Regions from separate parts of the Homo sapiens genome. Here all the other regions are linked to region 2. Evidence: promoter capture Hi-C in human tissues and cell types (Jung and others, 2019). All regions are on one chromosome and are shown on one strand. Each heading gives the region's core, a stretch centred on a gene start or on the middle of the fragment in contact. The rest is flanking DNA. Distances are from core to core; before and after follow the strand shown. Region 1 overlaps NDST3 (N-deacetylase and N-sulfotransferase 3). Region 2 holds the start of NDST3 (N-deacetylase and N-sulfotransferase 3). Region 3 has its middle 34 kb from the start of LINC02264.

What was found. The method cuts DNA at HindIII sites, captures the fragments that hold promoters and counts their contacts. A contact is called where the count stands out against the background at its distance.
Region 1: a contact is called between a fragment that was not itself captured here and the fragment with the promoter of NDST3 in region 2, in 4 of the 25 tissues and cell types used here (H1 embryonic stem cells, mesenchymal stem cells, mesendoderm cells and 1 more).
Region 3: a contact is called between a fragment that was not itself captured here and the fragment with the promoter of NDST3 in region 2, in 2 of the 25 tissues and cell types used here (heart left ventricle and mesenchymal stem cells).

Annotation. Positions count from the first base shown.
Region 1 is chr4:118,242,742-118,246,077 of GRCh38, reverse strand. The region is part of intron 12 of NDST3 (N-deacetylase and N-sulfotransferase 3); the gene reads right to left. Among named protein-coding and RNA genes, the nearest start is that of SNHG8, 34 kb to the left of the region's middle. The HindIII fragment of the contact is 5,164 bases long and covers 1-3,336 here.
Region 2 is chr4:118,033,080-118,036,534 of GRCh38, reverse strand. NDST3 (N-deacetylase and N-sulfotransferase 3) reads right to left here and starts at 2,049. Exons shown (of 14, transcript NM_004784.3): 1 at 1,943-2,049. The HindIII fragment of the contact is 9,214 bases long and covers 1-3,455 here.
Region 3 is chr4:117,799,212-117,802,517 of GRCh38, reverse strand. No RefSeq gene overlaps it. Among named protein-coding and RNA genes, the nearest start is that of LINC02264, 34 kb to the left of the region's middle. The HindIII fragment of the contact is 3,283 bases long and covers 325-3,306 here.

The sequences.
Region 1 (3,336 bases), core at 705-3,204, 210 kb before region 2:
ATTTTAAGGCTCTAGTTCTTTTTAAGGAAGCACTTCCTGTTAATATGCTATTCACTATTAAAAATTCACAGTATTGTTTTTCTGTGGTTCTAACATCCTGTGCCAATATGAAGAGCTTAACAGGTTGGCAATGTAGGTTCCAGAGATAACTGATTGAGTTTCAATCCTGCCTCCTCAACTTACTTGCTGAGTGACCTTTGGCTTAACTTTCCTGTGCCCCAGTTTTTTTTAATCTGAAAAAATGGAGCTAATTGTACGTATCACATTGTGTTTTTATGAAGAGAGAGAGATATATAGGACATATAAATGTATATTTATTTTGAACTGTTACAACCACTTAAAAATTTATAATAAGAAATTAGAATAGACTATTTTTTTCTTTTCCCTACTCAGCATTTCTAGGTGTTCTTTCATGCCATCCAGAGAACCAGCAGATTTTAGTTACTGTGGCTACTATAATTTGCTAATAAGAAAGTTTTAGTGTAGTACATTTGTACTAAAATTTATCTACAGTGGGTAGGAAAACAATTCCCGGGCAATATAAATTTCGTTGCCAAGGAAGTTATATTAAAAGCTATTGAAGTCCTTCTGAATTTTGAAGCAGCTTCAGTCCTTCGTGACTTAGCTAACCTCTGTCCACAAAACAAACAAACAACTATACTCAACTCTCGGCTTTCAACTTCTCATTGCCCATTTATTGACATTTTCAAAGTAAATTAATACTAAAAATTCATATAACATAGTCTGGTTTCATTCATCTTGACAAATAGGTTAACTGACTGAGACATAAAGATGCCAGGTTCAGGTATTTAGCTAACTAGTATTTCTAAACATGAAGACATCTGTCATTGGCATTGATGGCTAGGTATTATTGTGAACAGATGTATTCATGGCAAAACTAAAAGTTCATATTTTTCATTTTAGTGTATACAAATTAGTACAATTCCATGCTAAGCATTGTTTTTCCTGTCTTATTTCAAATGATTGCTTCAAAACACTATATAACATGTAACACAAAAACTAAAGTAATGTTAATATATTAATCCCATTTAGGGATTAAGGGTATGTGGAACAAGAGTTGTAAATTATAATTTACTTGATTGAATGAGAAAGTTCTTATTTATATTTTTAAAGCTTATTTTGCTTATTTCATTCACACAATCACTGAGAAAATCAGATTATTTAACATTAAATATGTCATTTAACACCCATGATAACAGTAATAAGTCATTTTAAGACATCACAGATTCTTCAGTGACTTTGTATATCTTTAAAAGTCTTGAACGCTTTCTTTAGCACTTGTGGAAAAGAATAAACAACAATCTTGACATTGGGGGCTTATTGTGATTCTTCTTGAAAATAGTTTTGATGCTGAAATTTGCTATATGGAAGATAATAAGTTTAGAGATATCTTAAATTGGAGTACTCTTTCACACCAAGATTGCATAGCAAAACATTTGTATAGACCTTGCTTCATTCATTTATTCTACTACATGCAAAGCACTAGATTTATGTAGTTAGTTGAGAATTCATATTGGTTTACAGTTTACTATATCCTTAGAGGACTTCCAATGAGAAAAAAAAAATTTTAAGCACCAATGAGATAGTCGTCATTATCACCAGCAGGAAAATAAGAAGAAAAAATAAGAAGCAATACCAAAGTGTACAAAGTATACAAACTGGTATAAATGGCATTTCTGACGATATATATTTTGTACCTCTAGTCATCCTCAGTATTTCCAAAGCACTACAGAAACAGCTATCAGTATAGTTACTCTAATAGGAGTAACTAAATTGTGAAGACAGGTTTCAGATAAACAACTACAAAGGGCATAGGGTGAAGGATGATCAATTTAGACCCAAGACAATGACATGAAACTTCCAAATATTCTACAACTAGTGCACTGCCAGGTTTTACAAGGTATGTCAGGCCAATTGATGATTGACAAGAAAATATAAAAAGAAATGGAATGGAAACACAGTATCTCCACCTGCAGGGTGAGAGCCTGGGTGGCACTGCTGGAATAGAAACTGTGGTTTCAGGGACTACACATATCTTATCTTGCTATTTCACCCACTGAGCCCCCAACCAGGTTAGAGAATCATATAATCAGTAATTTTAGCTAGATACAGCTCAGGTGCAAACGGACTACGGTTCTTTGTATATAGTATGTTGCTTTGATATTCTCTTAAGTTTACACTGCCTTTTCTCAGCAGTGGAGATGAATAAAAAGCTTGCTGCTGAGCTGGCTGCAGAGGGGACAAATACACAGCATGCAGGTCAAGGACCATCCCATAAGAAAAAGCAACTCTGTCTTTATAGAATACTGTACTTCTTTTTTTCTGAAATACAATGCTTTGCTACATACTCTATAAAAAAGACCCACAGATAACCTAACTTGAAATAGAAAACTGTTTAGAAAATAAAAGCTTTCTTTTCCAAGAGATGCTTAAAAAGATACAGAACAGAAAATGGTCTTGAATTTTTAAGTGCAAACTGAAATCACTCAGCTTTCTTTAAGGTCAAGTTGAATGTTAAATACCTAAGGCCAGTGTCTGTGTTAGTACTTGAACTAAGCTATACAAAACTCTGACAGTACTCATAGTATAGAAAACACAGAGGTCAGAAGGTTAATAATAACAGCAAAGTATAAATGACTCTTAGGAAGGAAGCTCAAAACTGCAGAGTTCCACCTACTCCTTTGTCCTCTACAGCAAAATGCCTCCCTTACGTGTCTCTATATTTGATTTGTAGGAGATATAAGCAGTATTTGATGTTTTCCTGCTAATCTTTTTTTCCTGCAAAGTTTGTTGAAAGGTAAAGGAAACCTGCCTCTCACTTTCTAAATTGATATTAAAGAGTACAAAAAAAGGGAAAACTACTCGATCTGTGGAACTGAGTTTTATACTGAAAAACACAATGGAAAAATTCCATGATAGTCTTTTTCAGTTTTTTTTTAAGGCTCAGTCCATGTAATTAAAAAAAAACCAACTTACGGTGTGAGTCAGGTCCATGACCCAATCCAACTCAGTATCTTCCAGTTGCTCTACACATGTGGTAGGAACAAATATAATTCTCCTAAATCTGATTGCCAACTATTCTAAATGGACGCAGTAAGATAGAGGTCTTCTTCAAAAATGCTAAGTGAAGCCCAGAGTCAGCACTAGGGTGAGGTAAGAGAGGCACCTAGGACACAGCACTCAGTCTCAGGCATGGGCACACCTCCGAGAGTGACTGCCTTCTTCAGCCCTAGTTCCTTACTGGTCCCTGGTCATGGACCTTACAGAGTCAGTTACCTAAGAAAATCGGAGGAAACCAGCAAAAAACCATACAAA
Region 2 (3,455 bases), core at 800-3,299:
ACAGGTGTTCAGAGTTCATGCATTTCAGTGTGAATGCTCATTTATAATAGACACAGCACAGGGAAAGTAAACTTCTACTGTTTTCCCTTACTGTCAGAACTGTTAAGCAATTAGAAATTCAAGGCATTCATTTAGTTGAGAATAGTGTTTTTATCCTTAATTCAATTTCCCTGATTTTATAGTGTATATAAATCACAAAGTATTTACATATAGTTTAAAAAAATATATTTTGCATCTTAACAAATGCACTTTTAAGGCTCTAATCACCAAAAAGCAGCTGAAACTCAATCAGGTTTCAAGGAAGTCATATAATCAGAGTCCCAAGATTAAAAGAAAAAAAATTGTAATTTCTTTACAGTTTTAAAATTTTGAAATGACAGGTAGACAATTACATATTTACATTTTAGCTTATAATAACTTCTTTAGCAGAATATATGGTTTAGAAAAAGAATCTCCAATGCCTGATTATCTCTTCTACTATATATTTTTTAACAAACTTTTCAGTTACACCAAAAATTAATATTTGCCTCAATGTTCAGAAATAATGCTTTTCTCAAGAAAATTAATTTAAAAAGAGGGTATATATAACTCCACCAAACTAAACTATAACAAATATCTCCAGAAAGAGATAAAAGTTTTATTTTATCTAAAACATTTTAGTAATGTAAGAATTCTTCATTTTAAAGACTATGAAGAAAATTAACTCATGTGACAAGCTCAAAATTAACATTATTTACACAAAGAAACAAATCTTCTGTTTTACCATCAAGATGATAAAGAAAAATGATAACAAAATTAGAAATGGTAGATACTGTGTTAACCAGAGAAAGAAAAAAAAGAGCTTATCTTAGGCAAGCCTCTTTATATGTTCAGTACTATTTTAAAAAGGAGCCTCCTTCAAACTTATATTTGAAATCTCCATCTTAAATATAATATTGATAGGAAGGTATGGATGAAGAAAAAGGGAAAAAAATTCCCTTCAGCTGAATATCGGATATTCTAGAGTTTCTCTGCCATATCATCCTGCTCTCTGGTGGTGAACAGCATTGCTCAGTAGTTGATAACATGAAATTTTCTAAGGGCAAAAAAAAAAAACAAAAAAAAAGTGTGTGTCCCAGATCAGTTGCACACATCTCAATATTTGATTTGTATTTTAATTTAATACAAATGTATTAAGAATGTAGCTGTTTGCATTGTCTAGAAGGGTTTTCTTCTAAACTCTTCCAGATTACATGTTGCTATATTTCAATATGTTTATAAAGAATATAGATACTAATACATTTTCGACATTAAATAACTCTGATGCTTAAACAGTATCCAGCTATTAGAAAAACTATTTGAAAAAGGATCTGAGTAAACCCCTTAAAGATGTAACTTTGCTTTTACCTGCCCCCACAAAATGGATATATTAAATAGAAGATATATCTGTTTTCTTTAAATTTAAAGTTTCTGTATTTGATACCTAGATTGATTCTTTCCATTTCCATTTAATTTTATTAATTGTATAGTTTTAAATAATGTCTATAAACTGCATCAAATAGAAAGCCTTTTGAGGATCATTACTGTGTAGATAGGCAGGTAGTTTAAAGTCTCTGATATTCCTTACAAAATTCTGTCAAGGCAACAGACATGTGTTCTGTTAAACAGATCTACTTCAGAATCATTATAAGTTGGTGAATATCTTAAACAATTACAAGAGGTCATTTCTTTAGTACCATAATCTTATGAAAGGGAAGCTTTAAAATCATCCCTGAATGAGACGGTCCTTTGTTTCACTTAATTTAATCAAAATACTCTATATTTCTTCTTCAAGAATAAAATGAAGCACTTGTTCAATCTTGAAATTTTTAGATTATTTGAAAGCAAAGTTGTTATCTCTTAAAAGCCCCTACATTTATGAGTGAGGCATTAATGCACAGTATAAATAAATAAATACACTTACCTGGAATTAAAGTTCAGAGCTGAAAATGCTTGAGAAAGTTGCAATAGATGGAAAAGAAACGGAAACAGTACCACTCGTTACCATCGGCTCAGGCTTTTTGACTTTACAAGTGGTAGCAACACCAGTCCTGGCCCAGTACTCTCATGTTATGTAACATCTTATTAATATTAGCCATCAAACTGCTACCAAGCTGGTGAGGCACTAGAGGGCAAGAGTGTCACATGCAAGACCCGTCGCCAAGGGACCGGCTTTGGTACCACTTCGGGGGAAGACAGATGCTAACTAAGCTGATGAATAACAGGATGCCCGAATACAACAGCAAACTTGTAACGTTCCTCAAAGAATATTTTACATGTCAATTTTCTGACTAGCGGAAGAGTTAACAGGTTAATAAATATGAGCAAGCAAATAACCACACCATGAAAAACTTTTAGGATTATATTTACAAACCCACAGTCACTCAAGAGGCTGTTTGTTTTTTTCTTTCCATTGTCTAAATAAACTTATTTAAAACAGGAGAAAAAAGCTGGTTAAATAAAACGAGTGTCGGTTTCAGGACTCCCTCATTCCAAGCCGCGAGAAACTTGTCTGGTCGAGATGCCGCCTCTGGAGTCCGCATTCCAAGGCGCCCGGATCGGGTTTCTGGGCGAGGAGACCGGCCCCGTCCTCCATGGAGATTACCTGGGGCTGCAGCCGTCCGCGGGCTCCTCCTTCCCTCGGGTCTTCGGCCTCAGCCGCTCCCCAGGGCCCCTCGTCCGGGTGGCGCTTGGGTGCTACGCGGTGCCCGGGGTCCGGCGGGGGCGACAAGCGGGCGACCTCTCCCCTCCGCGCCCGGGATCTGCGCGGACACAGCTGGTGGCGACTTCGGCCGCTCAGGCTGCGGCTGCGGGGCGAGCGCAGCGGGTGCGCCGGGGACTCCTGCGCTGGAGAACCACGGCCCTGGGACCCGCCCGGCCGCGCCTCCGCCGCCCTCGCCACCGCCTCCCGGGCGGGAGCCGCCGCCTCCCAGCTCCCGGCCCGCGCGCGCCCGCCCCGGGGAAGGGGAGGGAGCGGGAGCTGAGGACGGGAGCCGCCTCCATCGACCGGGCTCCCGCCCGGACCGGCCCTGAGGATCTGGCTGCCCGGGCCTCGACAAGGAGACCCCGGGGGTTCCGCCCCGGCCTGCCAGTTCCGACCGCCCCTCCCGGCGGGTTGGCGGCGGCCGCCAAGGATGAAACGTCTTGTGCGGCCAGGGAAAGGGGTGCGAGTCCCCGAGGCGACGCTGGAAGGGTGGGGCGCACCCGCGCGGTCCCTTCCTGTGGTGCTCCTGCCGTTGGCACTGGACCAGGGCGGCTGCGAGGCTGCAAGAGTTTCCTCTGTTCGCCAGTTTTTTTCAAATGCCATGTGTTTCAGCTCCTGAAGACAAGTGGAAGGCCAGCAACTGAAGAGATATTTTGGATTCAAGGTGTGAGGTTACCCTCTCCAGAACTATAGTTTGATTAGAAGTGTGAATCGAATGATATATATTTTTAAA
Region 3 (3,306 bases), core at 717-3,216, 230 kb after region 2:
AATATAATTTCTCAACTTATATTCATTGAGGGCCTAACACATGCTAATTACTATGCTAATCAAGGAGCACTTAGATGGGTAAGATATAGTATGTCTTTCTTAACTAAATTTCACTTAGCATAAAATTTATATGTTATAGATTTTTCCAGCTTTTCTGAGGTATAACTGACAGGAGAAATAGAAGGTTTGATTCCTGTGAGTCTCTGATCATATTTTCATCAGCCAATCAATGCATAACCTTGTTTTATGTGTCATTCTGTTTAAAGCACCTTATGTAATATATATATATTTATATTTTATATATATATAAGATATATATATATATATATATTTCTTACAAATAATTGATTGAACAGTCTTTGAATGATTTAGAGCCTGGGGCTTTGGAAGTCATTTGTGTTATATAGGTTCCTTTGGCCAAGTCCATGTAAAATAAGCCAGTCACAATCGCATTAAAATCCTGCTCTTCCCCATGACCCTTTTCCTGTATAACACTTAGCAGATATTTTCAACATTCTTTTGCTGCCTCCTGAACTGAACAACCTGCTTGCCTGCAAGTTTAGCATTTTTCACACCATACCACCTTTTGAAATGTGTGAGGCAGACAGCACTAGCTGAGAAGAATTTAACGTTTTCCTGACCCTGGGTAACATTACAGTAATTTTCTTTGACTTTGAACCTTACAATAATGCTGCCCACTATGCTTTTTTTTCTAATCAGTTGTCATCTCATGAATTCACAAATTTAGCTATTTTTTTCCAACTGTTCCATAGCTTCATTATATGCTATAAATGTTACTTCAGCAGTTTCTGGAACGGTCTTATGTACAAATCAGCAAATTTCCTCTTTTTTTTTTTCTGGATATACTGTTTGTTGATTCATTAGCATTTAACTCACGGTCAATAGCCCTATAATTCATGCTTGAATGAAGCTTAACTAACAAATATTTTCTCTGTAAGGCCCATCACAGTCTTCTTGTGTTTAGAAACATAAGATAGCACTTCCACACCATGTTTGAGGCCATTTAAAACAGCAAAATCACCAACAGTAAGTACAGAAATGCAAAAAATGTGGTACTCAATAGATCCTGAATAAGACATGTGTTTACAGTATAAAAACTGAAACAACATGGCAGAGTGTTACCTTGTTCGACCTCAGGAACCTGCAGCTGTCAGGCAACTCAAATATTTTGCCCCTCCGCAAATGCCTTTGTAAATGCCAAGAGTATTGGTTTTGGTTACAGATAAATTTTATCAAGTAGACAAATTTGAAAATACAAAATCTGCAAATAATGAGGATTGGCTCGTGTGTGTGTATTTCTAAATTACTGTTAAAATTTTCATGTAAATCTACTCATAATGTCATTGAAGTCAAAATATGTGATTATTTATAAATTCCTAAAAAAATAATTTCTACCTCTCTATCTCAGTAGTAAGCATAATAGACAAAAGCCCCTGAACTCATGGAGGTTGTATTTGGTAGCGTGTTAGGGATTGGCATATTGTATGAAACTTATTGTGCCTGCATATGGCTGTATAAATTTTAATCATAATAGTTCCTGCAATATTTTGCATTTCATTTTTCTTACCTTTCTAAATTTCAACACCATCCTTTCTTGCTCTGCCTCTGTAAGGCATGCGCCTCACAACTAACTACATACAGTTTGAAGATCTAATCAATGTTAGACCTGTTGATAGCAGAGATTAGCGTTCCCGAAGATTGACATGCTGCTGAGAAGTGGCATGTTGTTTCCTTCCTTTGGGACACCAGTTTGCTTTTAATATTGTGCAGAGTCCACTGCTGACAAGACAGTTAATAAAACTGATATCAGGCACTGTGTCGTATCTGAAAAAAATTAATAAATAAACGTATGCTGAGAAAGGTTCTATTAAGTAGGTCGGCAGTCAGCTTTCCTAACTGTCAGCCACTGTTCTTAGGAGCAATTTATTTTTTACTATTGCTTATTACACATATGCTAATTTTTTCTGGGCCCAAACCCATCCAGCATCATTTGTTGAAAACACTATCCTTTTTTCATTAAATGGGCTTTGATTTTGCCAAAAATCAATTGTTTGGATATGTTTGAATTTATTTCTAGAATTTCTTTTCTATTTAACTAATTTATTTGTCTATCTTAAAATCATTGTCTTGATTACCATAGCTTTATAATGAGTCTTGAAGAAAGGTACTGCAAATCTTGCAAACTTTTTGTTATTTTCCAAAGTCGTTTTGGCTATTTACTGGTTCTTTCTATTTCCATGTCAATTTTAGAATCAGCTTGTTAATTCCTACAAAAAAACAAAAAACAAACAAAACAAGACAAAAAACTGCAAAGATTGTGGTCTGGATTTGCTTTAAGTCTGTAGCTCAATTTGGAGGAAAGTAACATCTTCACAAATTTGAGTTGTTTGATTTATAGACACAGGATGTCTTTTAATTTATTTTGATCTTCTTTAATTTTCCCTCAACAAAGTTCGGTAGTTTTCAGTCTACAGATCTTGCACAGCTTTCGTCGGAATTTAATAATTTTATTTTCCAATTATTTGCTTTCAGTGTAAAGAAATATTATAGATATTTATATTTATCTTGTATTTTGTAAACTTGCTAAACTAACTTCTTCTAGAAGCATTTTTGCAGATTTCATAGAATTTTCTGCATAGACAATCATGTATGAGAGCAAAAAAATTTATTTTCCTTTGCAGTCTGTATGCCTTTAATTTCATTTTTTGGCCTCGTTGCATTGTCTAGGACCTTAGTACAGTGCTGAATGAAAGTGATAATAATGGATGTGGGCTTGTCCCATATCTAGGGGGAAAGCATTTAAAGTTTCTTTCTATTCTTTGTTTAGAGTTTTTATAAGAAATGGATATTGGATTTTGTCAAATGCTTTTTCTGCATCTATGGAGATGATCATACGTTCTTCCTTTTTTAGTCTGTTAATACAGTGAATTAAATTGATAGTTTTTAAAGTGTTAAAACAAGCTTGTATTTCTGGAATAAAGCTTTTATTCTTGCAGGTTCTGCTTTAAACTTTGTTAGGCAGTACCAGAACAACATTTTCATCTAATTTTACACATTGCTAAGATAAAACCCTTCTTCCTAAGTTCAACAATTAAGTCTTCTACTCTGGCTGGTGAAAAAAGAAAACATTCCTGGCTTTGTGCAATTTTTAAGTAATAGTCTTTGTTTTCCTTATCTTTTCTACAAGTTATTTTCCCAATCTTGGGCAATTTTTTTAAAATGTATGTGCAGAGCAGTTCTCAACTAAAGAAGTGAGGAGGTCCTGGCTAACACGGTGAAACCCCG